Regions from separate parts of the Homo sapiens genome. Here all the other regions are linked to region 1. Evidence: promoter capture Hi-C in 16 types of primary human blood cells and fetal thymus (Javierre and others, 2016). All regions are on one chromosome and are shown on one strand. The core of a region is centred on a gene start or on the middle of the fragment in contact, and the rest is flanking DNA. Distances in the headings are between cores, read along the strand shown.

Evidence for each region. Contacts are between HindIII fragments. The CHiCAGO score rates a contact against its expected background, and 5 or more counts as called.
Region 2: a contact is called between a fragment that was not itself captured here and the fragment with the promoter of DMRT3 in region 1, in 1 of 17 cell types (monocytes). The highest score is 5.3, in monocytes.
Region 3: a contact is called between a fragment that was not itself captured here and the fragment with the promoter of DMRT3 in region 1, in 2 of 17 cell types (monocytes and M1 macrophages). The highest score is 6.2, in monocytes.
Region 4: a contact is called between a fragment that was not itself captured here and the fragment with the promoter of DMRT3 in region 1, in 1 of 17 cell types (monocytes). The highest score is 5.3, in monocytes.
Region 5: a fragment that was not itself captured here is called in contact with the fragment with the promoter of DMRT3 in region 1 in 1 of 17 cell types (monocytes); the score reaches 6.0 in monocytes.
Region 6: a contact is called between a fragment that was not itself captured here and the fragment with the promoter of DMRT3 in region 1, in 1 of 17 cell types (monocytes). The highest score is 6.6, in monocytes.
Region 7: a fragment that was not itself captured here is called in contact with the fragment with the promoter of DMRT3 in region 1 in 1 of 17 cell types (monocytes); the score reaches 6.7 in monocytes.

What each region holds. Positions count from the first base shown.
Region 1 is chr9:974,677-978,216 of GRCh38, forward strand. DMRT3 (doublesex and mab-3 related transcription factor 3) reads left to right here and starts at 1,979. Exons shown (of 2, transcript NM_021240.4): 1 at 1,979-2,779. The coding sequence starts at 2,326. RefSeq lists enhancers at 1-612, 1,145-1,646, 1,647-2,146. The HindIII fragment of the contact is 15,659 bases long and covers 1-3,540 here.
Region 2 is chr9:495,140-498,679 of GRCh38, forward strand. It overlaps a transcript of KANK1 not described here. Among named protein-coding and RNA genes, the nearest start is that of KANK1, 7.8 kb to the right of the region's middle. The HindIII fragment of the contact is 2,413 bases long and covers 779-3,191 here.
Region 3 is chr9:553,782-557,321 of GRCh38, forward strand. All of the region lies in intron 1 of KANK1 (KN motif and ankyrin repeat domains 1), which reads left to right. Among named protein-coding and RNA genes, the nearest start is that of KANK1, 51 kb to the left of the region's middle. The HindIII fragment of the contact is 3,607 bases long and covers 1-3,540 here.
Region 4 is chr9:584,120-587,659 of GRCh38, forward strand. All of the region lies in intron 1 of KANK1 (KN motif and ankyrin repeat domains 1), which reads left to right. Among named protein-coding and RNA genes, the nearest start is that of KANK1, 81 kb to the left of the region's middle. The HindIII fragment of the contact is 519 bases long and covers 1,472-1,990 here.
Region 5 is chr9:602,185-605,724 of GRCh38, forward strand. The region is part of intron 1 of KANK1 (KN motif and ankyrin repeat domains 1); the gene reads left to right. Among named protein-coding and RNA genes, the nearest start is that of KANK1-AS1, 82 kb to the right of the region's middle. The HindIII fragment of the contact is 5,861 bases long and covers 1-3,540 here.
Region 6 is chr9:622,035-625,574 of GRCh38, forward strand. The region is part of intron 1 of KANK1 (KN motif and ankyrin repeat domains 1); the gene reads left to right. Among named protein-coding and RNA genes, the nearest start is that of KANK1-AS1, 62 kb to the right of the region's middle. RefSeq lists an enhancer at 1-502. The HindIII fragment of the contact is 1,186 bases long and covers 1,043-2,228 here.
Region 7 is chr9:639,474-643,013 of GRCh38, forward strand. The region is part of intron 1 of KANK1 (KN motif and ankyrin repeat domains 1); the gene reads left to right. Among named protein-coding and RNA genes, the nearest start is that of KANK1-AS1, 44 kb to the right of the region's middle. The HindIII fragment of the contact is 2,206 bases long and covers 419-2,624 here.

The DNA.
Region 1 (3,540 bases), core at 729-3,228:
GGTTTTGAAAAAAGTCGTTGGTCCCCACGTTTCCAAGAGATCCGGAGGTTTCAGCGCAATAGTTTTCAGTTAAGGTGTCATTTGAGGCCCTCTATATCGCAGCACGTTAAATGACTCGCGTCCAGCTCCCCATTTCCTAGCCTCGGGCCTACAGGGCTGGGGGCGACCTCTGCCTCCCGTCCCCAGAGCTTACAAAATTCCTTCCAGTTGTATTTTAGGGCTTGTTTTCCTAGAGAAGGTTGAGACTAGAGGAAGGATTAAAGTGGTGGGGGAAGGGGCAAGACCGAGGGGTCCCTACCCCACGCGGCTTTGGAGGATGGCCTCCCAGGGTTAGCACTCGAATGCTAGAGCTTCTTGTCCACACTCTACCAGGTCAGTGTCCCGCGATCCCCACCTCCCGGACGCGTATGAAACGGGAACAGCTAAGGGCTTCAAGGGAAACACACAACTGGGGTTCGGTTTTCAACCCTCCTCTCCGCAAATCAGCCTTCTGGGCAGAGGGTTGGCTGCTAGAACGCCTGGAGGTGCTTCCCTTGAATTCATGGCAAACACCAGAGGAAAGTTTTCAGGTTGCTTGCTTACTTCCAGGGCAGTACAGAGAAAAGCGGCCTCCCCGAGGGGACAAGGGCCTCTGTGCCCATGAGGGGTCGGACATTGCAGCGGACTTGCCTACGCTCTCATCTAGCATTTGATTCCCCACCAGGAGATGGGCTTGGTGCACGCTCTCAGAAGCGCATCCACCGAAGGCTCTGGAACTGCCCCGCTTCGCATAGAGCTATTGTGCTGCCCTGCAGTGTATCCACTTGTTTTGTTTGTTTGTTTGTTTTTTGGTTTTTGCTTGTTTGCTGATGGGCAGTGGGGAGGTGCGAGGGTGGAGGGCCTTCTTTGTGCATATATAGCGATAGTCTGCACTAGGCCAAGCCCGCTACTCCTGGGAGAATGGGAACACGCAAATAATCTAAACAAAGTTTTCTGCTGTCATCTTGTGAAGGACCCTCTCCCCCAAGACATCTATGACTGGGGTCTATGGGTTAAGGAGGTGAAAAAGTGGCCCCATCCCATATCCATAACTGAATCACAGAATCCGTGGGGATTTGAACTGAGTGGCTGGCGCAAGACCTCCGTTTGCTTCCAGTAGCTGCTGGGAGCGAGGGAAGAGGATATCGGTAACTTTGGGGGCGCCAATGTGGCTTCTGTGTCTGCCCCTTGAAAGTTTATACCCGGCGCTTAACAAATCCTTTACAGGAGCACGTACGTCCCTGACCTTTCAGGATACTGTTTTATATTAAAACATGGACAGGAGGGTAGAAAAGTAAAATTCGCCTGCAAAATGGCTTGTCATCCTTGGGCCGGCAGATCTCCAAAACCATTTTCTTCTAAAGCAACAAAAGAGAAAAAAATACGTTCTAAAAGGAAATTACGAAAAGAGCCTAACTTTCCTAAACCAACATCACTTCACTCCCCTATCCTAAACTCCACCCAGGTCCGGGGTGCAACCGCAACACTCCCGTAGGTTCGAGTTCTCCCGGAGCTGAGCTTCTGCGGCCAAATGTCGGGATAAAAGCGGCCTTGGGCTCGGAAAAACGCGGCCAGATCTGGACTGGAGGGAGGAGAAGAGAGAGAAGCGGAGCGGCCACCTCACTCGCTTACAGGCACCCCCACCCTCACTCCCGCTGGTCCTCCCCTTCTCCGCCCCGCGAGCACCGCCGCGTTCTGGAGCGCCGCAGTCTCCAGCCGCGGGCTGGGGTAGCGGAGAGGGCTTGGAGGAGGGGGCCGCGAGCGCCCCCGCGAGAGTGGCCTGGCTGCAGGTGGCAAGGAAGGTGAAGTGCAGGCACCCGAGGGGCGCAAAGGAGGAGGAAGGCGTGGGGCGGGGAGTGCAAGGAGACAGGGACCCCAGGGGCGGGGGTGGCGGTGGGAAGGAGGAGGGGTTGGGGGAGGGCGGCGGAGGTGTTGGGTCCGGCCGGCTCACGAGGGAGCTGCAGAAGAGCTGGCTCAGACCTTAATCAGAGCTGTCGCCGGCTCCTTGCAGCCGCCGCAGCGCCTCCGCGAAGGAGGACGTGCCGACCCGGCTGCGCGCCCAAGGCAGAGGCCCGCGTCGGCGTTGGCTGGGCGTGAGCTGGGAGGCCGAGCTGTGAGCGCGAAGGGAGCTGGAGAGACGACTGCGGCACCTCCGGCCGCCCCGGAGCACACACGACCACCGGGGCTGCGGGACCAAGGGCCGCGTCGCCCGGAGGCCGCCCCTGAGCGGGCCTCGCAGCCCCGCCGTCCAGCGCTCCCTGGCCCTCTCCCGCAGCCAGGCTGCCAACTCATTCGGGAGCCCGGGGCATGAACGGCTACGGCTCCCCCTACCTGTACATGGGCGGCCCGGTGTCGCAGCCGCCACGGGCGCCCCTGCAGCGCACGCCCAAGTGCGCGCGCTGCCGCAACCATGGCGTCCTGTCCTGGCTCAAGGGCCACAAGCGTTACTGCCGCTTCAAGGACTGCACCTGCGAGAAGTGCATCCTCATCATCGAGCGGCAGCGGGTCATGGCTGCGCAGGTGGCGCTGCGCCGGCAGCAGGCCAACGAGAGCTTGGAGAGCCTCATCCCCGACTCGCTGCGCGCTCTGCCAGGGCCCCCGCCGCCGGGGGACGCCGTCGCCGCCCCGCAGCCGCCGCCAGCCTCTCAGCCGTCGCAGCCGCAGCCGCCGCGCCCTGCTGCCGAGTTGGCCGCGGCCGCCGCGCTGCGTTGGACTGCCGAGCCGCAGCCCGGGGCTCTGCAGGCGCAGCTCGCCAAGCCAGGTAAGAGCGTCTGAGGTGCGGGAGTTTGGCCGGGCGCGGGGGCAACTTCGGAGTGCCAGCTGCAGCTCCACTTGGGAGGACTGGAGGCAAAGTTTTGGGACGTGGGCCTGTCGGGGCTTTCCTTCCTACTCTCCGCCAGGCCGGGGCTTCCTCTCCCGGGAGAAGCCGGCTGAGTCTGGACCCAGCGCGAGTGGCACTCGCGCCCGCAGGGAAGGCGCCTCCGGGCAGCCAAACGACGGGACTGTGCGTCAGTATCGCCAGGTGCCTTCCCAGGTTGAAGGGTTCGGAACGTGTCAGATTGAGCAGGGAGACAACGGAGTTGAGACAGGACAAAATTAAAACCCACGTGCGCACACTCACTACGGTGGGGTCGGATTTTCCTGGCTGCAGGCTTTAGAGGTCCTTGCCATTTGGGGGTTGGAATGGGTAGGTAGGTGTAGGGAAGGAGCCAAGGCCAACACTCGGCTGAGTCGAGCTGGCTGTGCTTCTCGGCCGGCCCGGCCCTGCCCAGGGCCCAGGAAAATTTGAGTGAGGACAAGTATCCAACTCTCAGAACCCTGGCCTTTCTAGCTTTGCTCCGTGGCCTCCAGACTCTTGTAACTGGTGAAATAAGTTCCATTTAGCAATGATAGTAAAAGGGTCCGGAAAGGCTTGTGAGCTGATAGCGGGAAAAGAATCTGATGCGCCCAGAATTCACTCCTTTGCAGAACCTCCTAGATCCTTTAACACTGTTCCCCAGGCTGCCCTCAGCTGTCTTCGTG
Region 2 (3,540 bases), core at 735-3,234, 480 kb before region 1:
GCCTTGGCTCCAAGTATCAAAGCAGAATTTCGGAGAAGGTCCTCCTGCACTAAAGTCATTGTCCCCAGACTATGAGTTTCTGCCTCCTTCTCTTTCAGCATTCTCCTCCCCTCCTCTGGCTGTCCTTTGTCAGACTCTACAATCATGGCTAGAAGAAAAAAGTTGACTTAACCGTTCTTTGTTGAAATTCGGGACTATGTTAGAGATACCAGGTCTCAATCAAATACAGCCTTCAATAAAAGACTCTTACGTAACCAGATCCTATGAGCAGAGAGCCATCGTGCCTCCAACTTAGTTTCTTCAGATTGGCTGGTTTTGGTGCTCAACTTTTGACTTTACCCACCTTCCTGACAAAGTGTTGAGGACCACTAGGTAAGCATGCTATCTTCAACGTTAAAAAAAAAAATCATGATTGAAGGCAGCTGCACTTCATATATCAAGGAGCATTGAATATAACTAACTCTAAAACTTCATCAGGTCATGAGGTTTTATTGACATCAGTGTATTTGGCTTCAGCTGTGATAATCATGTGGCGCAGTCTCTTTTCCTCCCCGCAATGCCTTGCCTCCCTTGGAAGACTCCCTCCACCCCACCCCAGCCCCATTCAGCTTCGTTCAGAAAAACCTTCATTTTTATCTCCCATTAAAGTTTGTCTGATGAAAAGGCTCTGAGGCTCAAATGACAGCTCAGTTGTTTGAAACCTGCTGGGTTAGAGAATGGTGCTATAAGGTTAAGATCAAAAGGTCACCAGGTCAGGGTTTCCTTGCTGAGGAAGAAAAGCTTCAGTGACAGTGACTCAGTGTAAAGTTATCATCACTAGCATAATTAAACACACACACACACACACACACCACAATGCATACACTGTCCCAGCTGGAAGGGGTCAGGGTGGACTTCTGGCTCTGGCCTCCAGCAACCTGGGTTCAAATTCTGCCTCTACCACTTGGCACTGTGGCTTCTTGCAGCTATTTGAACCTCTGTGAGCCCCATTCTTCTTGTCTGCAAACTGTAGATAATAATCATGACTACCTTACAGGAGAAGTAAATTGGTTCAGAGAACACACTTAACTACAGTGCCAAGCATGGAAGTAAGCTCTCAATAAGAATTATTGATTATTAAAACTACATTCTTGGCCAAGTGCAATGACTCACGCATGTAATCCCAGTACTCTAGGAGGCCGAGGCGAGCGGATCACTTGAGGCCAGGAGTTCCAGACCAGCCTGGCCAACAGGGTCAAATCCCATCCCTACTAAAAATACAAAAATTAGCTGGGCATGGTGGCACATATGCCTGTATGTGCCAGCTACTCGGGAGGCTGAGGTGGAAGAATTGCTTGAACTTGAGAGGTGGACGTTGCAGTGAGCTGAGATCGTGCCACTGCACTCCAGCCTGGACAACAGAGCAAGACTCCATCTCAAAATAAATAAATACATAAATAAATTCATAAATAAATAAATGAAAGAAATAAAATTATATTCTTGTTTTAGTTATAACAACATTTTATATGTCTCTCAAGCCAAAGTCTAATAGCATTACAAGTTGTTTTTGCACATGTATCATCTCCCTTTAAAGGACAGATAGTTTCTTGGGATTATTCTTATTTTTGTCCTTTATGAAGCCTAACCCAGCACTTTCAGCACAGCAGGCCTTCAATAAATATTTGGTAAATAAATAAATAAATGTTCTAAATAAAGTGGATCTGCAGGGACAGGTTTGTACACATAATCCCTCTACTTAGGATCCTAGTAGAATGACATACACATTCTGAATGCTCTATAAATATTTTATAATAGTAACAATGATATAATAATTATAATTATGAATGAAGATTACTCTTAGCTCAATTTCCTGAACTAGAATTATGTCCTTCAGCCACGGAGAAAATGTATTCATACAGGGTTCCAGCTTAATGTAAACAGAATTGTAACTTGATTTTTAAAATAACTAAAGCAAATGAACCAATGTGTCCTTTCCTTTCCTTTCAAACAGTTGTTTCCAGGAACCAGAAGTGTGGGGCTATCATATGCAAGTTGTGATAAATTAGGTCTTTTCCTTCAACATTTAGTCTCAAAAAAAAGAAAAAAAGGAAAAGAAGACTCCTTAAGGGCAGTATGACCATGGGCAAGGGTGAGGGAACACACAGCTTTCCTTAGTAAATCTCAAGCCTCCAAGGTTGGCGTTGGAAAGGATCTGCAGGTAGCAAATCCAGCTGTCCCACTGTGCACGCCCTCCCCAGTTCACCTTTTCTCTGAGGGAGACTCATTGGTGCTCAGGTATGCATGTGACTCTTCACACACACACACACACTCACACTCACACTCTTGCCACCATGACTTCCATTTAATGTTCAAGAATTCTTCTCTCACAGCTCTGTAAAATATTTGAGAAGGACAAAAACTTTCAAAAAACCCTTAATTATAACTGTAGTATATAACCATTTTTTTAAATGAAATTAAGGAGAGTATAAATTGGAAGGCTGAGGTGGGCAGATTGCTTGAGCTCAGGAGTTTGAGATCAGCCTGGGAAACATGGCAAAACCTGTCTTGACAAAAAATACAAAAAATTAGCCAGGCGTGGTGGCGTGTGCCTGTGGTCCCAGCTACTTGGGAAGCGGAGGTAGGAGGATCAGTTGAGCCCGGGAGGTCAAGGGTGCAGTGAGCCGTGATTGTGCCACTGCACTCCAGCCTGGGCGACAGAGTGAGACCCTGTATTAACCCCCCACACACACACACCCACACACACAAGAGTATAAAGAAGAAAATTACTTCTAGGGACCACCCCAGTTCCATCCGTCCCAAAGGTCTGGTATGACTTCGGGGATCTCTCGCTGGGGTGTCTTCCTTGCTCCCTCCTGACTTGCTTCCTTGCTGCCATATACCCTCTTAGGCCCTGATGGGAAACTCAGGGCACGAGATTTCTACCTGCAGCATACCCAAGGCTCATTCTGATCCAACTTACTCTGTGAGGTTTGATCCTTACTGCAACTTAATGAAAGAGGCACAGGTAGGTATTACTGCCATTTTACAGACAAGAAACTTGAGGCTTGGGGAGATTCAACAGTTGGGCTATTGCTATTTGCACACAATTCCAAGTATTTAGCAGATAACTAATTGCACCACACGAAGGTCTACTACAGAAATGGGCTGATGGGGTGAAACTCGGAACCAGGGCAGATGCTCTTTAACTACAAAGCTTGTATAACGCGTGGTCATGTTCAGTATTAATACTAGATTAGCTTAACTGAATTCTGAGACAATGGACACAAGACAAATTAGATTTGATGAGAAAGGAGGGAGAGGAAAGGTTCTAAACATGGGCATGCTGTCAGTAGGATAGTCCTCCTTGTGACCCACAACTGACAGAATGGAGGAAAATATTTTAAATCATATATCAGATAAAGACTAGTATCACTTATCAGATATGAATAAAGACTTCTTACAATTCAATAATAAAAAGACACATAATCTAATTTAACAATAGACAAAAGATGTGAATGGACATTTCTCCAAAGAAAATATACAAATGGCCAATACGAATTC
Region 3 (3,540 bases), core at 519-3,018, 420 kb before region 1:
ATTACAAAATCTATACTAAGAAATATTAGAAAATAACCTGTACTTAATAGGTTTAATGGAAATTAAACCCAAATATAATGGAAATCTGAATGAATGCTCATTTAAAAAAATATAATTTATAGCAGTGGTTCTCAAACTTTAGCGTGCATTTGGGTCCTCTGGAGCATTATGTTAAAACACAGATAGCTGGGCTCCAACCCCAGACCTTCTGATTCAGGAGTTCTGGGACTGGCGTACAAATGTACATTTTTGACAAGTTACCAGCTGTATGAGGGTTCTCCAAAGAGACAGCATAGGTATATTAGGAAGGAGATTCATTATAGGAATTGGCTCATGTGATTACGAAGGCCAGGAAGTCCCAGGATGTTCCCCAAGAAGTCTCAAGATCTGCCATCTGCAAACTAGAGAACAAGAAGGCCATTGGTGTAATTCAGTCTGAGTCTGAGGGCTGAGAACCTGGGAGCACCTGGCGTAAGTTTCCATCTCCATCTGAGTCTGAAGATCCAAGAACCAGGTGCGCTGATGTCTGAGGGCAGGAAAAGATAGAAGTTCCAGCTCAAGCAGAGAGCAAGTATTTGCCTTTCCTCTCCCTTTTTGTTCTATTCTGGCCCTCACTGATTGGATGACACCCATCCACACTGATGAGCATCCATGTTGGCGGTCTTAACCCTTTTCCCACTTAGAAAAAAAGTGCGGTTTGTGGCCAGTGCTTATTTAATTTTACATAAACAGGCTGTTGGAGGCTAAAGCAAATCGGACTGATTTTCAGTGTGAAAATAAAATAGAAAATATTATTTCTAAACAGAACTAACATCACAACCATCTGAATTATCAGAATCATCTATTTCAGAAAAATCGGATTCATCAAATGAATCTTCCATCAACTGTTAGAGAACGATGTTAACATCACTCATAGGAATGCTATGTTTTCTAGGATTTGACATTTTCAGCAATTGAGAATTACTATATTTTGTAAATGGAAATGCCACTACTAAAAACAGAATCCTATAAATAGGATGATGTCTTTTGTTTCCAAAGTCGATATACTAGAACGATGTGAAAATTTAAAAAACGAGATCTTTCGTGGCAAGGTTATCTTGGGGTAAACACTGCAGCTGCAAGCACCATGGGCAAGTATTCTCAGGGCAAACAGGAAGAGAGTTAGTGAAGTCTACTAATTCAAATGCTGATCTCTTCTTGGCACACCCAGAAGTAATGTTTTACCGGCTGCCTGGGCATCCGTTTGCCCAGTCAAGTTGGCACGTGAAATTAACCTGCATACCAGGTAATGTTTCTGCTGCTGGCCTAGCGACCACACTTTGAGAACAACTAATAAGTCATAAGACAGTAGAACCCCTGGATAGTAATAAGTGCTCGTGAAATGAGCTGGCCAGTAGCTAATCCCTGAGAAAGCCATTTCCTAGTCTTATACCACGTCAGTAATCCAAAGCAGGATGGCGATCTGAAGTCCTGAAGAGTCAAGGGTGATACGATGACTCTATGGAGCCATCACCACTATTGGGAAGACAGTGGGGACACCTGCCTCCCCTACCTTCCACACCATGTACATGATGGCACGTGACTTAGATGTGCAAACTGTGCAGTGTCAGCTTTGTGATGATAAACTCTTCCACTCAGTCTGCTATGTATATGGCATAGTCACTATACTGCTAAATTAAATAAATCAAATGAGTGAACATAAATCAGGATTCAGATACCAATTAGGTAAAATACTATAGTTTGTATATGATGGGGATTATCCTTTTTCTGGAATGTTTCAGCATCCAACCTTTGCTGCGTTTGTCTTCTTGCAGTGACTGAGAATTAGCTGAAATAACTGTAAAAGCGTAAGATTCCCATTTGGCTGGAGATGAAATCACAGAGGTTGGTTTACTAAGCCTTAAGAAATTCCTTTAGATTTGATGTGTCCAGACTTGTACTGGAATATGAAATATTCAATTTGACAAGATCTGTGAGTTCCTAGTACATACGTGTTTTTAGAAATGTGTTTCTCAAAATACAATTAGGAAAAAATCCCTTTGAAATGCTAAAACTACCTTTAGTGGTGATAAAGATGCCGACAACCCCTTCTGTTTAAATAAAAACAAACAACTTTTAACCTTCATGATGTTATAATAACATCATTAACTTGTGTAGACAAACATCAGTGCTCACATTTAAAGTAATCATTAAACATTTTCAGAGTTATACTTAAAATGACTTTTTAATCATACTATAAAATACTGCTGCAAAGTTGTTGGTGGGGTACTAAGTTGTAGTTCTTATTTCTTCTTTCTCTACAGTCTGTTTTGGCTCTACCTTGGGGGGAAAATACCCAAAGAATTGTAACTGAATACAGAAGCATTTTAAAAAATCTTATTTTAAAGAGGAGGAGAAATTTTAGAGCTATTTCTGATAATAAACCTCAAAAAGTGAGAAGTATTAGAATTTATCTTGGTTAATTTTCTTTTTTTAATTAACGAGCATGCATTGCTTATATAAAACTTTTCTCTGTATGTGTCTGTATCTGATGCAGTTAGAAGTTCAATGTGAGTTTAGTGATTCCCAGGGAAGACTTAGGGAACCTTGGTTTCTGAGTTGTGCTCTCCTCTGACTACGTGGTGAGTCTTAGTCTCTGGAGTCAGCCAGATCCAGATCTTAGTCTCATGGAGTTAGCCATGATCATTTTAAACTTATAATTATTAAAGTGCTATGATGTACAAAGGTGCTTATGAAACTAAAATTTGAGGAATTAGATACAATGACTATGCGGTTTTGCTTTTTAGTAACTGTTTCTCATTACTTCATTGATCCAAAGTGAGATTTTTAAAGCTAAAGTCCTTGTTCCATTAAGATAATTCTGTCATTTGTCCAGTTACTCTCCTTACTCAAATTGCTAGCCCCTTTGGTACTTTTCTCTCTAGCTCTTGCCCTGCTTCATGATGTTCCTGAATAGTTTTAGTTTTCTTTGTTTATTTTTCCACTTTCTTGGGCCAGACCTCCAATTTAATTCTTTTAGTTGAATGAGCTGCTTTCTCGCTTGTTACAGACTCACTTAGGGCTCATTCCTCCCTGCCTTAGTCCCAGTATGGTCTCAGTAATGACATGCAGTATGGGGACTTTGGACTCCTGTTTGAACAAACCAGCTTTGAGATGATAAAAATTTGAATATGAATTGAGTTCTTGAAGATAAGAAATTGTTAATTTTGTTAGGTTTGTTAATGGCATGGTAGTTACTCTAAAAACAAATTTCTGGGCGAGTGTAGTGGCTCATGCCTGCAATCCTAGTACTTTGAGAGGCCAAGGCAGGAGGATCACATGAGCCTGAGAGGTTGAGCCTGCAGTGAGATGAAATTGCGCCAGTGCACTTCAGCCTGTGTGACAGAGCAAGACCATGTCTCAAAAGGAAAAAAAAAAAAAAAAAAAATTTATTCATTAGTTATAAATGCACACTGATGTTCTTATAAGTGAAAAGATATATTGTTTTGGTTTTGCTTTAAGATTCCAGCAAATATAAAACAGAAAAAGAGGGAATATATT
Region 4 (3,540 bases), core at 481-2,980, 390 kb before region 1:
ATAAGAGGTGACTTAAGTGCTTCAAGGGAATTTATTAAAATGGATTATTGATCAGTCATTAAAAATGAAAGCATACAAGACTATTAAATGGTACAGAATTTCTATCAGAATAAGTGGGAAAAACAAGTTACAAGTAATATCATATGATTTACTTTTAGTGAAACTTACATGCACTTACACATTTGTGTATTATGTTTATGTGTCATGCATACATATAAAAGTGGAAGGCGGTTCAACAAAGTGCTAATTATCCTCATGATTTTTATTTTTTCTTTGATTTTTATGAACTTACAGTAAAGAACAAAGTACTACTTTGAAGGAAGAAAAATTATTTTTTAATAATTCAGCATAAATTACATAGGTTATCCAAAGATAGTAATATGGTATTTGATCTGAACCTAGACTTCTGTTCTGTTGATTTGACACATTTTGGTGTCTTTCCTTTTATGTTAAATAAGTAACTATCATTTACCTACAGCAGAAGAAGAATATAACTTAGCATTTGAGACTTGATAACATAGAGCTGTTGAATAGTTCTGTAAGATTTGTTAGGGAACCAAAACCAGGCATGTGAGGATGGTGCTGGAAGAGAAAAGGCGGGAAGGGTTTGCAGTCAACTGTCAGTTATCTTCAGCTTTCAGGCTCGCTGCACATGGACAGGTGAGGACCAAGGGAAGAAGAGCAAGCTTGGGTATTTGGTTGAGCTGTTAAGTTCAGGGTTAGAAAATGACCAGCACAAACCTTTTGGCTTGAGAGCCAAAGTTCTTGGCAGGAAGTCTCTGCTTGTTTCCGTTTGCCTTCCTCCCAGTTTCTCCTCAATGCCTTGCAGTCAGCATCCTGTATCTGCCATTTTGAAAACTGCCCTTAGGGGTCATGAGTGACCCCCTTCCTTATTGTTAAACCCAGTGACATTTTGTCCTTATCTGCAGCATTTGATGTGTTACTCAACTCTCTTTGGGCTTGTGTGCCTCTCCACCCTTGTGGTTATTCTCCTGCCTCTGTAACCACTCAGTGTCTTCTTCCATGTCCCTTGACCCTTCACTGTGTCTTCTACTGATTCCCCTTAGAACTTTCATTTACCCCTGGAGCTTCAACCATCATCTTCAGGTAAAACTCTAGCAACAAGTCATCTTTGCCCGCTGTGCATCATCCTTGCTGCCATTGAGAGTTTGGTCTTAAAATGGTACTTGCAATTAGAACACGTTCACTTTGTCACAAAATCTGACAGACATTGGACATACTTAGAATTCATATCTGGCTTCCTGAGACAGCTGTCAGATTGTCTACCAATGGTCTACCCATTGATGATGGAACAAGCTCCTTGTATCAGCCTCAAATAAAAATGATGGAATTAATAAAAGACGCTTACCTTAAGGCACAAAGGCCTATGAATTTCAAAAAGCATTGACAGAACCGATCCAAAAAATATGTAGTTTGTAAAAACTCTAATACAATCCACACTGAAGTAAAAAGCTTAACTTAGAATAATCCAAATAGTCTTTGTCAGCTGGACAGCTAATCTTGGTGAACATGGAAGAGTAGACAATAATGTTAAGGCATTGTGTGAGGGTTAAATTGTTTGCGAGGTCGGCATTGCTGGGGCTTCGGATTCAAACTGGGCCTTGAAAGAGGGGGTAAGAAAAGTCTATGGGGAACTGATGGGCACAAAGGCAGGGTGTAAGTGTTTGTTCTTGGGAAAATGATCAGACTAATCTGATTGAATAGAAGACGTTTATTGGAAATTAAAGGAAGATAAAGTAGTGATAGATAATGGAAGAACTGAAGGTCAACAGGGGAGTTTATATGTGATGGAAGAGAAAATCATTATCACTAGGGATGTAGATGTAAGAAAACGTTAGGTTTGGAAGTTATAAGACAAGAGAACTTCAAAGTTTGTGGGATTCTGTAAGGTGGGATGGGAATAAGCAATATTGTTGAGTACCTGCTGTGTGATCTGTAAGGCATAAGATGTCATTATTATTTTACAGCAAGCTTTGGAGTAGATGTACTAGTTCCCATTTTATGCATAGTGAGATGGAATTTTGAGCAGACATACTTGTCTAAGTTTGGCAGAGTGGCTGGACCAGGATTCATGCCCAGTGACATCTGACTTCAAAGCACAGTGAGGATGGAGAATGTTGAGACCAGTTCTTCATTTTACAGTCAAGGGGATGGGCCCAGGCCTATTCAAGGTTACAGGAATAGGATGAAAGCAATTTCTCTGTAAGAGAGAGTGGATAGGCTGTGATCTGCAGAGGGTCCAAGTTAGAGGCTCTTGTTATAAACAGATGAGGTATGCCAAGGAAGTTGGGTTCAGCAGTGTGATAGGAGTGAAAAAGAAGGGGTAGAGAGCAGCTGGACATTCGGGGAAAGTGGTGGTGACTGTTAGTGGAAGGTAATGACGAGAGAGATGACTTGAAAACAGTTCCGAGGTTTTAGTCCCAGGGAACTGCCATTAACAGTTTTAGGAGAAAAGCCATGTGTGTGTTATGGAGTGGTCTGAGTAAGTATGATAGACATTAAAAAATACATAAAAATAGAGTGGTATGCATGTGCTGAATTATGTTTGTACTACCAAACACACGGAGGAGGAGAACAGAACAGAAGGTGGAAAGCTATGAGGGATCCAGCGCTTTTCTTTGCAGTGGTGGAGAGTCACGAGAGCAAATAGCTAGCCTTTACCTAAAGCAAAAGGGACTCTTTGCATGATATCTTAGGCTCCCTTTTATTCTGGCCTGCCCCTGCACCCCCAGCAGGAAAGTGGCTTAACTGTACTTTGATTTCCAAAATGCGTAGCAGTCTCTAGTATTGATTCCCCTCTCCTGCAGATCTCAAGCCTAAAAATGAGTATTGTTCCATTACATTTCCCTCAAAAACATTTCTTTTTCCTTTCAGAATGATGGTCACTATACTGGATGGACTTCTGAACTAGTGAATTACTTTCATCTTTTGATCACACTAGGAAATTGTCCACGGAGTTGAAATATTTATTGCAGTAATTTCTGGCCTTACATAATTAAGATAACATATCGTTTTTTTCTTTATAACTATCATGAAGTTGTCATGTTTGTTTCCTTTAACTTTGCTTTTTAGAGGTACGAATCTGTTCCCTAGTCTTTTATGCTCCAATGATCTGTTCAGACTGCTCTTGATCTACAAATGTATGATTGAGAAAAGACTTTTATAGGATGAAATATGAGCAAGCTGTTTTACTCTGAAGAATAAAAGTGAATTGTATTACTCTGCAGATTAAGTCAATAAATACCCCATTTTCATAAACACAATATGCACAGACTAGATAATACTAGGGAAACTTGATACATCAAAAGGAGTATTAAGACTGAAAAAAATGGAGATACTCAATTTATTGCAGGCTTTATTCAATAAACCTAGAAAATAGAGAGTTTAAATCAAAATCTGTTACTCTGTTTCTAGAGATAATCAATGTTAAAATTGTACTATATTATTTTCCAAGTTTTTAGAATATGTGCATGTGTTGTTGTGTTAGCTTTCTCTATTTTTGCAACTTGAGTAACATTT
Region 5 (3,540 bases), core at 359-2,858, 370 kb before region 1:
CATTTTTGACATTCCTTCAATAACTATTCCTGAGTTTCTGACTCTCATTTTTAGCCCATTCCATTTTTATTTATTTTATTTTATTTTATTTTTTGAGACGGAGTCTCGCTCTGTTGCCAGGCTGGTGTGCAGTGGTGTGGTCTTGGCTCACTGCAACCTCCCGCTCCTGGGTTCAAGCGACTCTCCTGCCTCAGCCTCCCAAGTAGCTGGGACTACAGGCATGCACCACCATGCCCAGCTAATTTTTGTATTTTTAGTAGAGATGTGGTTTCACCATGTTGGCCAGGATGGTCTCAATCTCTTGACCTCATGATCCGCCTGCCTCAGCCTCCCAAAGTGCTGGGATTATAGGTGTGAGCTGTTGCACCCGGCCCCCATTCCATATTTTAATGAGAATATCTTTTGGTTAGTTATAGAGGTAAATACCTGGATTTACAATGTGTAACTACAGATTCATCATCCTATAATAAAGTAACTCTTTTTGCATAAACTTTTGATAAGTTATTTTTGTCCTTATAATTTTATGTGTGAAGTCTTTACGGTCAGAGGACATTGACAAAATATTTTAGATTGAAAGCCTGTTCTCCTTGATGATTCAGTATAACTTCTTTTGACTGCGCTTTTAGTTCTTGCAAAATAGATCTTGTTTAGATGAGATTCCAGCATGACTCCTTTGTAATTTTTCATATTTTTGCTATTACATCTCAACTCTTGAAGAGCTATTTCTGTGAAAACCAAACATGCAGTCAAGGCACATTCCACGTGTGGCTGATGGGGTTATCATAGTTACAAATCATATTTATCCACAGTGATAATTATCTTCCTTAGCGTTTTGTTCTACTTCAGAGCTCATTTGTGGGCCTTACCACCTGTTTCTTACATATGGGGAAAGAGTCTCTTATTCTCTTTTGGAATATAGATCTAAGAGTAGATTTATATCAGGATTTGAAAGATGAATCTTTTTCAAGGATGTTTTTCCTCTGGACCGTGGCATTGTGTAAGAAATTTCCCTACTCATCCCATCCCTGGGGCACATTAATTTGGAGATGATGTTAAATGTGTCAGAGTGTGGCACAAATCTCAACTGGCAGATAAAGCCTAGTATTGAATTGTTTTCAGTTCAGAAACGTGGCTGGCTGACTTTGACCCTGAATGTGTAAATTATCTTTGCAGCAATAAGAACTTGAAGTAGCTTTGATAGCTAATCATAGTATGATAACTCAGCCAGAAGAATTCACTAAGAGCAGTTTGTGTGTCTTCCATCTAATGTAAAGGTTAGTAATGTAAGTCATATTCTTGGTGCCTTTAGACCTAGTTATGCAGAGAGACATCACATTGACATTCAGTAATTCTTACTCTTAACAGTTCCTTAACTCTAAAATCATCTTTTTCCTTACCTTTCCCTAGTTCTAGAACAGCAAAATATTTTACTTAGATTCTATCATTAATTAATATACTCGTTTGAATTTTTCTCTTCTAAAAAATGTAGGCCAGGCATGGTGGCTTTACACCTGTAATCCCAGGACTTTGGGAGGTCGAGGCGGGCGGATCACCTGAGGTCTGGAGTCCGAGACCAGTCTGGCCAATGTGGCGAAACCCACCCCGTCTCTACTAAAAATACAAAAATTAGCTGGGTGTGGTGGTGTGCGCCATAGTCCCAGCTACTCTGGAGGCTGAGGCAGGAGAATCACTTGAACCCGGGAGGCAGAGGTTGCAGTGAGCCAAGATCACGTCACTGTATTCCAGCTTGGGTGACAGAGCAAGACTCTGTCTCAAAAAAAAAAAAAAAAAAGTAAAATTATTTTGGCCTTACCATGCTTGGTTTCTTTGTCTTTGTTTTTTCATTCACTTTATGTTTGGGGAGGAGAATGGAGTGTCAGTGATTTCAGCAAAAAGTTGGGGTACCAGTTCATAATAAATTAGTGTCTAAGATTAATGTTACAGCTGATATTCAAAGTACCAAATACGTTATTGTTCTGATTATTCTGGTCCTTAAATTTGTCTCTTTCCTGGAGACGTGGTAAACAATAATGATGATTCTAATAATGACCATTTATTGAATGAGCACTATGTGTCAGACATTGTACTGGTGATGTGGTTTGGCTGTGTGTCCCTACCCAAATCTCATCTCAAATTGTAATCCCCACGTGTTGAGGGAGGGACCTGATGGGAGGTGATTGGATCATGAGGATGGTTTACCCCATGCTGTCCTCCTGATAGCGAGGGAGTTCTCATGAGATCTAATGGTTTAAAAGTGTTTGGCAGTTTCACCCTTGCACCCATGTCTCTCTCTGTCTCTCCTGCTGTCATGTGAAGAAGAGGTCCTTGCCTCCCCTTGGCCTTCCACCGTGATTATAAGTTTCCTGGCCGGGTGCAGTGGCTCACACCTGTAATCCCAGCACTTTGAGAGACCAACGCGGGCAGATCACTTGAGGTCAGGAGTTCAAGACCAGTCTGGCCAACATGGCGAAACCTGTCTCTACTGAAAAAACAAAAATTAGCCGGGCGGGTGGCGCACACCTGTAATCTCAGCTGTTCGGGAAGCTGAGGCAGGAGAATCGATTGAACCTGACAGATGGAGGTTACAGTGAGCCAAGATTGTGCCACTGCACTTCAGCCTGTGTAACAGAGTGAGACTCTCTCAAAAAATAATGATAATAGTAAGTTTCCTAAGGCTTCCCCAGCCATGCAGAACTGTGAGTCAATTAAACCTTTTTTCTTCATAAATTGCTCAGTCTCAGGTAGTTCTTTATAGCAGTGTGAAAATGGACTAATGCAATTGGGCAATGTCTGACAGTTTGCAAATACCATCTCATTTGTTTTTAATAGAAACCTCCTGCTGAGAGTGGTGGCTCACGCCTGTAATCCCAGCTCTTTGGGAGGCCGAGGCAGGCAGATCACATGGTCAGGAGTTTGAGACCAGCCTGACCAACATGATGAAACCTGTCTCTACTAAAAATAGAAAAATTAGCTGGGTGTGGTGGTACGCGCCTGTAATCCCAGCTACTTAGGAGACTGAGGCAGGAGAATCACTTGAACGTGGGAGGCAGAGGTTGCAGTGAGCCCAGATTGAACCACTGCACTCCAGCCTGGGCAACAAAGTGAGACTCCGTCTCAAAAAAAAAAAAAAAAAAAATCTAATACTAGCCATGAGGAAAGATAATCACTCTCAGATAGTAAAGCATTTGCTTAGCCATATGTTAAGCTCTGAATTCAGATGAAGGGGCATCTAAAACAGGCAGAGAGCATCAGGAAGGGCTTCCTGGAGGAGAAAGTGCGTACACTCAGTCTTTAAGAGCACGTGGGAGGAAAAACCAGTGAAGTCCTCCTGCTGTAGACAGAATGATCAGCCTGGGCAAAGGTGTAGAGGGGTAAGAGAGCGTTAAACATGAGGCAGCTGTGTAATATTGTTTCCTGTAATCTCTTCTGTACAGGTGGAGAGGTAGCAAGAGACCCAAATGATGAATGGCTGTGAGTGCCATGCCATAGCAAAATTCTGGGTTTTAAAAGAGAATAAGCATGATCAGGCTGGGGATGTTG
Region 6 (3,540 bases), core at 386-2,885, 350 kb before region 1:
TAGGTTCAGGGTCTTTTTCATACAACAGTCTACTTTTAGAGCTTTTGTTCGTTTGTTGTGTCATGGGAATTTATAAGGGATGGAAGGAAAAGGGGGACAAGGAATGGTCTAATTTCGGTCAGTAGAAGAATACCTGAAACCTGTTTAAATTTATTTGGAACTAATGACTTCTACTTTTAGTATCCATAAAAGACTTCCCTTGGAGCACAAAGAAGTTAATAATCTGTGTATATTGTCACTTCATGCTCTTCTTAAGCGCTGTGTGTTGGGGCACTGCTCTAGGTGTGGTGAAAGACTGCTACAGGATAAATAAGTCATGGTCACTGCCCTGGAAAGAAGCTTAAAATCCAGTGGGAGTAAATGATAAATGCATAATGACCTAAATGTCAGATGGATCTAGTACGTACCTGGAGGATTGCATAGAAGCATCCTGACAAGGGTGCCAAGAATACGCAATGGGGGAAAGGACAGTCTCTTCGAAGAATACTGTTGGGAAAACTGGATATCCACCTGCCAAAAAATAAAATTGGACCCTTAACACCATATACAAAAATCAACTTGAAATGGATTAAGACTTAACTGTAAGAGGCCGGGTGCAGTGGCTCATGCCTGTAATCCCAGCACTTTGGGAGGCTGAGGCTGGCGGATCACAAGGTCAGGAGTTTGAGACCAGCCTGGCCAACATAGTGAAACCCCATCTTTACTAAAAATACAAAAAATGAGCCAGGCGTGGTGGCAGCACCTGTAATCCCAGCTAATCGGGAGGCTGAGGCAGGAGAATGGCTTGAACCTGGGAGGCGGAGGTTGCAGTGAGCTGAGATCATGCCATTGCACTCCAGCCTGGGTGACAGACCGAGACTCCATCTCAAAAAAAAAGAAAAGAAAGACTTAATGGTAAGGCCTGAAACCATATAATTTCTAGAAGAAAACACAGGGGAAAAAAGCTTCTTGACATTGGCCTTGGCAATGATTTTGTTGCTGTTACCTCAAAGCACAGGCAACAAAAGCAAAAACATACAAGTGGGACTACATCAAGCCAAAAAGCTTCTGCACGGCAAAGGAAACAACCAACAAAATGAAAAGGTAACATACAGGCTGGGAGAGAATGTCTACAAACCATATATCTGGTAAAAGGTCAATGTCCATAATATACGAGAAACTCGTACAACTCAATACTAAAATAAAAAAAAAAGTGGAGGTGGGGCAAAGGACCTTAATAGACACTTTTCCAAAGAAGACACACAAATAGCCAACAGGTAAATGAAAAGATGCTTGCCAGGTACGGTGGCTCATGCCTGTAATCTCACCATTTTGGGAAGCCGAGGCAGGTGGATTGCTTGAGTCCAGGAGTTCCAGACCAACCTGGACAACATGGTGAACCCCTGTCTCTACAAGAAATACAAAAATTAGCTAGGCGTGGTGGCATGCACCTATAGTCTCAGTTACCCATTAGACTGAGGTGAGGAGGCTGAGGCAGGAGGATCACCTGAACCCGAAGAGGTCGAGACTGCATTGAGCCAAGATCATGCCACTGCCCTCCAGCCTGGGCAACAGAGTGAGATTGTGTCTCAAAAAAAAAAAAGAAAAAGAAAAAAAAAAGAAAAATGGTGCTTGACATCACTAATCATTAGAGAAATGCAAATCAAAACCACAATGAGATATTATCTCACATTTGTTAGGATGCCTGTTATCAAAAAGACAAAATATAACAAGTTTTGACAAGGATATGGAGGAAAGGGAACCCTTGTACGCTATTAGGGTGAAAATTGGTACAGCCATTATGGACATTGGTATGGAAGTTTTGTAAAAATCAACTATATGATCCAGCAGTCCCACTTGTGGATATATGTTTAAAAGACATCAAATTAGTATGTCAAAGAGATATCTTCACTTCCATATTTATTTCAGCATTACTCACAATAGCAAAGATATGGAAACAACCCAAGTGCCATTTATCTTAGGAATGGTTAAAGAAAATGTGGTATATATATACAGGATAGAATAATATTTAGCCATAAAAATAAGGAAAGCCTGCCATTTGCAACAACATGGATGAACCTGGAGGACATTATGCTAAGTGGAATAATCCAGACACAGAAAAACAAATACTGTATGATCTCAGTTATATGTAGAATATAAAAACGTTGAATCCACAAGCCAAGAGTAGAATGGTGATTGTCAGGGTCTGGGGCATGGGAGAAACGGTGAGATGCTGGTCAAAGGGTACAAGCTTTCATTTATAAGATGAATATGTTCTGGAGATTAGGGAGCGTCCTTAGTCTTTTCCCTCTCCATGCAGAGGGTAACTATGTGTGATGACAGATGTGTTGATTAATTTGATTATGGGAATCAATATGCAATCTATATTTATATCAAATAATCACATTGTATACTTTGAATACGTATAATTTCTATTAATTATTCCTCAATAAAATTAGGAAAATCAGAAGCATCCTAAAAGTTGCATTAAAAACAATGATGAAAACAGGCCGGGTGTGGTGGCTCATGCCTGTAATCCCAGCACTTTGAGAGGCTGAGGTGGGTGATCACTTGAGATCAGGAGTTTGAGACCAGCCTGGCCAACATAGTGAAACCCCATCTCTACTAAAAATACAAAAATTAGTCGGGCGTAGTCATTCCTGTAGTCCCAGCTACTCGGGAGGCTGAGGCAGGAGAATCACTTGAACCTGGGAGGTGGAGGGTGCAGTGAGCTAAGATCACGCCACTGTACCCCAGCCTGGGTGACAGAGCGAGACTCTGTCTCAAAAAACAAACAAAAACAATATCCCCTTTAAAAACGCAATGAAAAAAATAGCTGCCTTACCAAGCCACCAGTGAGAGCCCATCTCTGAGGAAAAGGGGTGTGCAGCCGGACAGGCTTCAGTTTAAAAGCTTAAACCTTGACTTGGACTTACTTTATGCCCTGAGCAAGCTATTTAACTTTTTTGTTCCTTAATTTCTAAATTATGAAATGGCAGTGGAATGAAATGGAAGATGAAATTGTGCCTTGTTCGATGCCCTGGGGTCTGAAAGGTGCTCCTAAGGGTGTACAGCAGTTAGCACCGTTAGCGTCCTGGGCAAACCCACAGCCCGCAGATCTCTTATTTGGCAGCGAATTCCTGCAGATCAGCTCTAAGAGCCAGATTTCCTCATGGAGGAAAAGACTGCTACTGTCACGGGAAAGATTTGTTTAAACATATTTTTTAGTACAGTTTTATAAGTCCTTATCAAGTAGGGCCAGCCCCCAGATAAAAACCGTTAAGTATTTATCTGTAAGCCAGAGGTTGAGAATAGGAAACATTTGAATCTTTAAGAACTTGAGTCCAACAAAAATACTGGCTAACAGCCTGACTGAGGTGAAATAAACCTTGTTTCCAGTTTTCCAGAAAAATTGTTTATTACTGGGCAAATCTTGGGCCTCCAAGATTGCCTATATTTTTGTTTTTCTTTTCTCTTAATCTACAGGAAACTTCTGGGTTGGGCCTTCTCATAGTTATCCGTTGTTAAAAGTTCTATATTTCTACAAACCTTCTTGTGCGA
Region 7 (3,540 bases), core at 272-2,771, 340 kb before region 1:
ACCTGGCTAGTTTTTGTATTCTTAGTAGAGACAGGGTTTCACCATGTTGGCCAGGCTGGTCTTGAACTCCTGGCCTCAAGTCTTCTGCCCACCTCGGCCTCCCAAAGTTCTGGGATTACAGGCACGAGCCACTGCGCCTGGCCTGATCTTAGATGATTTACCAAACAGTGCCACACCCTCTGCCTTCTGTGTGTGTCTCAGGCTGTAAGTAAAGTCTCCGTCTTAGTCCATTCAGGCTGCTGTAACAAAATGCTACAGACTGTGTAATTTATAAGCAGCATAAATTTATTGCTCACAGTTCTGAAGTCTGGGAATTCCAAGATCAAGATGACAGCAGATTCAGTATCTGGTGAGGGCCTGTTCCTCAAGGATAGTGCCTTCTATGTCCTTACATGGCAGATGGGCAAAAGAGCTAACAAGCTTCCTCAAACCCTTTGTAAGGGCACTAATCCCATTTGTGAGGGTTCTACCCTGATGATTTAATCACCTCCCAGAGGACCCATCCTTAATGCCATCCCGTTGAAGGTTGGGTTTCAAAATGTAAATCTTGGGAGACACAAAACATTGAGAACCATAGCAGTCTCTCAGACCTCGTTGTACTCAGCTTCATTTTAGGATAACTCCACATTTGAGTTAAGAAACCAAGAGTTTGTATTCCCAACTCTATGCTTCATGAGGTTAAAGACTCTTGGCTTCTCATTCTCACTGCTCAGGCAGGGGTAGTCCATCTGAATGGAAACTCCTTTTTGGGGGGCACACATCATTTTTATTTTATTTTATATTTCTGAGACAGAGTCTCGCTCTGTCGCCTGGGCTGGAGTGTGTGATCTCGGCTCTCTGCAGCCTCCACCTCCTGGGTTCAGGCGATTCTCCTGCATCAGCCTCCCGATTAGCTGGGATTACAGGTGCATGCCATCACGCCCAGCTAATTTTTTTTTTTTTTATACAGAGTCAGTCTCTGTCTCCCAGACTGGAGTGCAATGGTGTAATCTCGGATTACTGCAACCTCCGCCTCCCAGGTTCAAGTGATTCTTCCACCTCAGCCTCCTGAGTAGCTGGGATTACAGGCGCCTACCATCATGCCCAGCTAATTTTTGTATTTTTGTACAGATGGGGTTTCATTATGTTGGCCAGGCTGGTCTTGAACTCCTGATCTCAGGTGATCCACCTGCCTCGGCCTCCCCAAGTGCTGGGTTTACAGGTGTGAGCCACCACGCCCGGCCTAATTTTTTTTTTTTTTTGAGATGGAGTCTTGCTCTGTTGCCCAGGCTGCAGTACAGTGGTGCAATCTTGGCTCACTGCAAGCTCTGCCTGCCGGGTCCACACCATTCTCCTGCCTTGGCCTCCCGAGTAGCTGGACCTACATGTGCCCGCCACCAGGCCCAGCTAATTTTTTGTATTTTTAGTAGAGACAGGGTTTCACCATGTTAGCCAGGATGGTCTCGATCTCCTGACCTTGTTATCTGCCCGCCTCGGCCTCCCAAAGTCCAGGGATTACAGGCGTGAGCCACCGCGCCTGGCCACCACTTTTAAATGTCTGTGTTGCAGTGAAATTTTAAAAGAGAGAGCTAAATTTTGATGTCAGTTTTTAAATAGATGCTGCCAAGAGCCATGTTGATAGCCCAAACCAATTTTCCATTTATACCAGTGATATACTTCAAGCCTGAAAAATGTAGTCCAGTGTGGGAAGAAGCCCTGTGATGGTGAGAAATGCAGTAAGAAACTGGGTTCTCCCATGGAACTGATAATTAATGCAATCAGATATGAACAGTATGTTTAAGGATAGTCTGGACATGAATGTGTATAATCTGTCTTTATCAGATAAACAAATAAAAGTCTTTTACCTAATCGTCGTTTCCTGAGTTAGAAGAATCCTCCTTATCAGATACCTGCTTTGGTCATTGGAAGGAAAGTAGAACATCCATCTTGGTGGTGATCCTTGTTTCTTAGTACTCTGTATATCCTTTCCAAGAGACAGGTTTCTTTTATGAAATGGCTAAGATCATCTCCACCACCATGAACAACATGCAAATGGAGCTGCTGCACAAAGTTTAGGGAGTTCTAAGCGTTGGGATTCCAAGGCATATTACCCTGTACTGAAGAAACTCGGAACAGAGGCATCCTCAAATCCTAACTGCAAGGAAGCGTAGCCTGTGTCCTTTGTTGATGGAGGAATGATTCAGTGAGAAAGAACACAGTGATTTTTTTCTCTACCTATCTTACATCTTACTCTCTTGCCATTTCTTGTAACACCTTTTCATCCTGTCTTAACCTTCAGCTACCAGCTTACCCTGATCGTAATGACAAGGAAATTCATACATTTTGGTTTTTTAAGGACTACTTTATTAAGGTATAATTCACAAACCATGCAGTCCACCCTTTAAAGTATACGATGCAATGGTTTTTAGTAAATTAACATAATCGTGTAACCATTGGCATAAACAACATTAGAACATTTTCATCACCCCAAAAAAGAAAACCCATACCCATTGGCAATCAAAAGCCGATTTCCTCCCCAACCACCACACACCCCCCAGCACTAGGCAATCATTATTCTACTTTCTGTGTCCATGGGTATATTAAATACTGTGTTGTAACTGGAGATAGGATGCCCATAGTCAGAAAGCTTGAGCTCACATGAACTGTTGGCTTGGATTTCTGTGCGGATTAAACCAGCTTACTTCTGACACGGCAGATGCTGGGCTTTTTAACCTCTTTCCTCATTGTGCTTCCTGACTTGTTACCTCTGTATCATAAAAGCATGAAAGGTCGTAGAATAAATGAGTCTGCAGAAAACTGCGTGGTTAAGTTACCCCATTTGTGTTTTACAAAGATAGCGGAAGGGAATAACCTTTGAGGGTCACATACAAAAAGCCATTTCCTCATCCTCCCTAACCTTAAAAAGTCGACATTATTTTTACAGCAGCTTCTCTAAATTGACTTACACTTGAACAAACTAAAAACTACAAGAAGAGTAGAGCTTAGCTGGCAGGCCTGGTTTTGAACAAGTGTTTGATTTTGCTAATCTTGGTAGTGCATAAGGTCACTTTTGTAAATTTCCTGTAGAAAAATTCTTGGTTCTTGGACACACTCAGCTACTAGAACAGAGAGATGGTTTATATTTTTTCTATGAATTACCAGCTGATAAAATTCCCCTCCTTTGAGTGGGAGAAAAATTCAAGCCAGACAAGAACTTTTGTGGCAGGTAACTCTTACTTGAAATTTATTTGGATTTCTAGAGGCAAATTAATTTCTCTCTCTGTCTTTCACAATAAATAGGTGCCTGTCACCTTTTTTTTTTCTCTATCTAGTGAGCTGCTTCTATAGATGGAAGAAAGTTAGTCCTTCCTTTTGGTATTTTGAGAGTTTTATTTTTAGGCCTCTCCTTGGCTGTCTTTTCTCCTTGTAAAGCCAGTGTCGAAGTAATGGCAATGGTAAGTATGCTTAGCGTTCTAAATTTTTTTAATGCATGTTTATTACTAAGTAATTTATCTCCTTTTCTTCTACTTTATAGCTCCATATTAAATATGGTGGCACCTT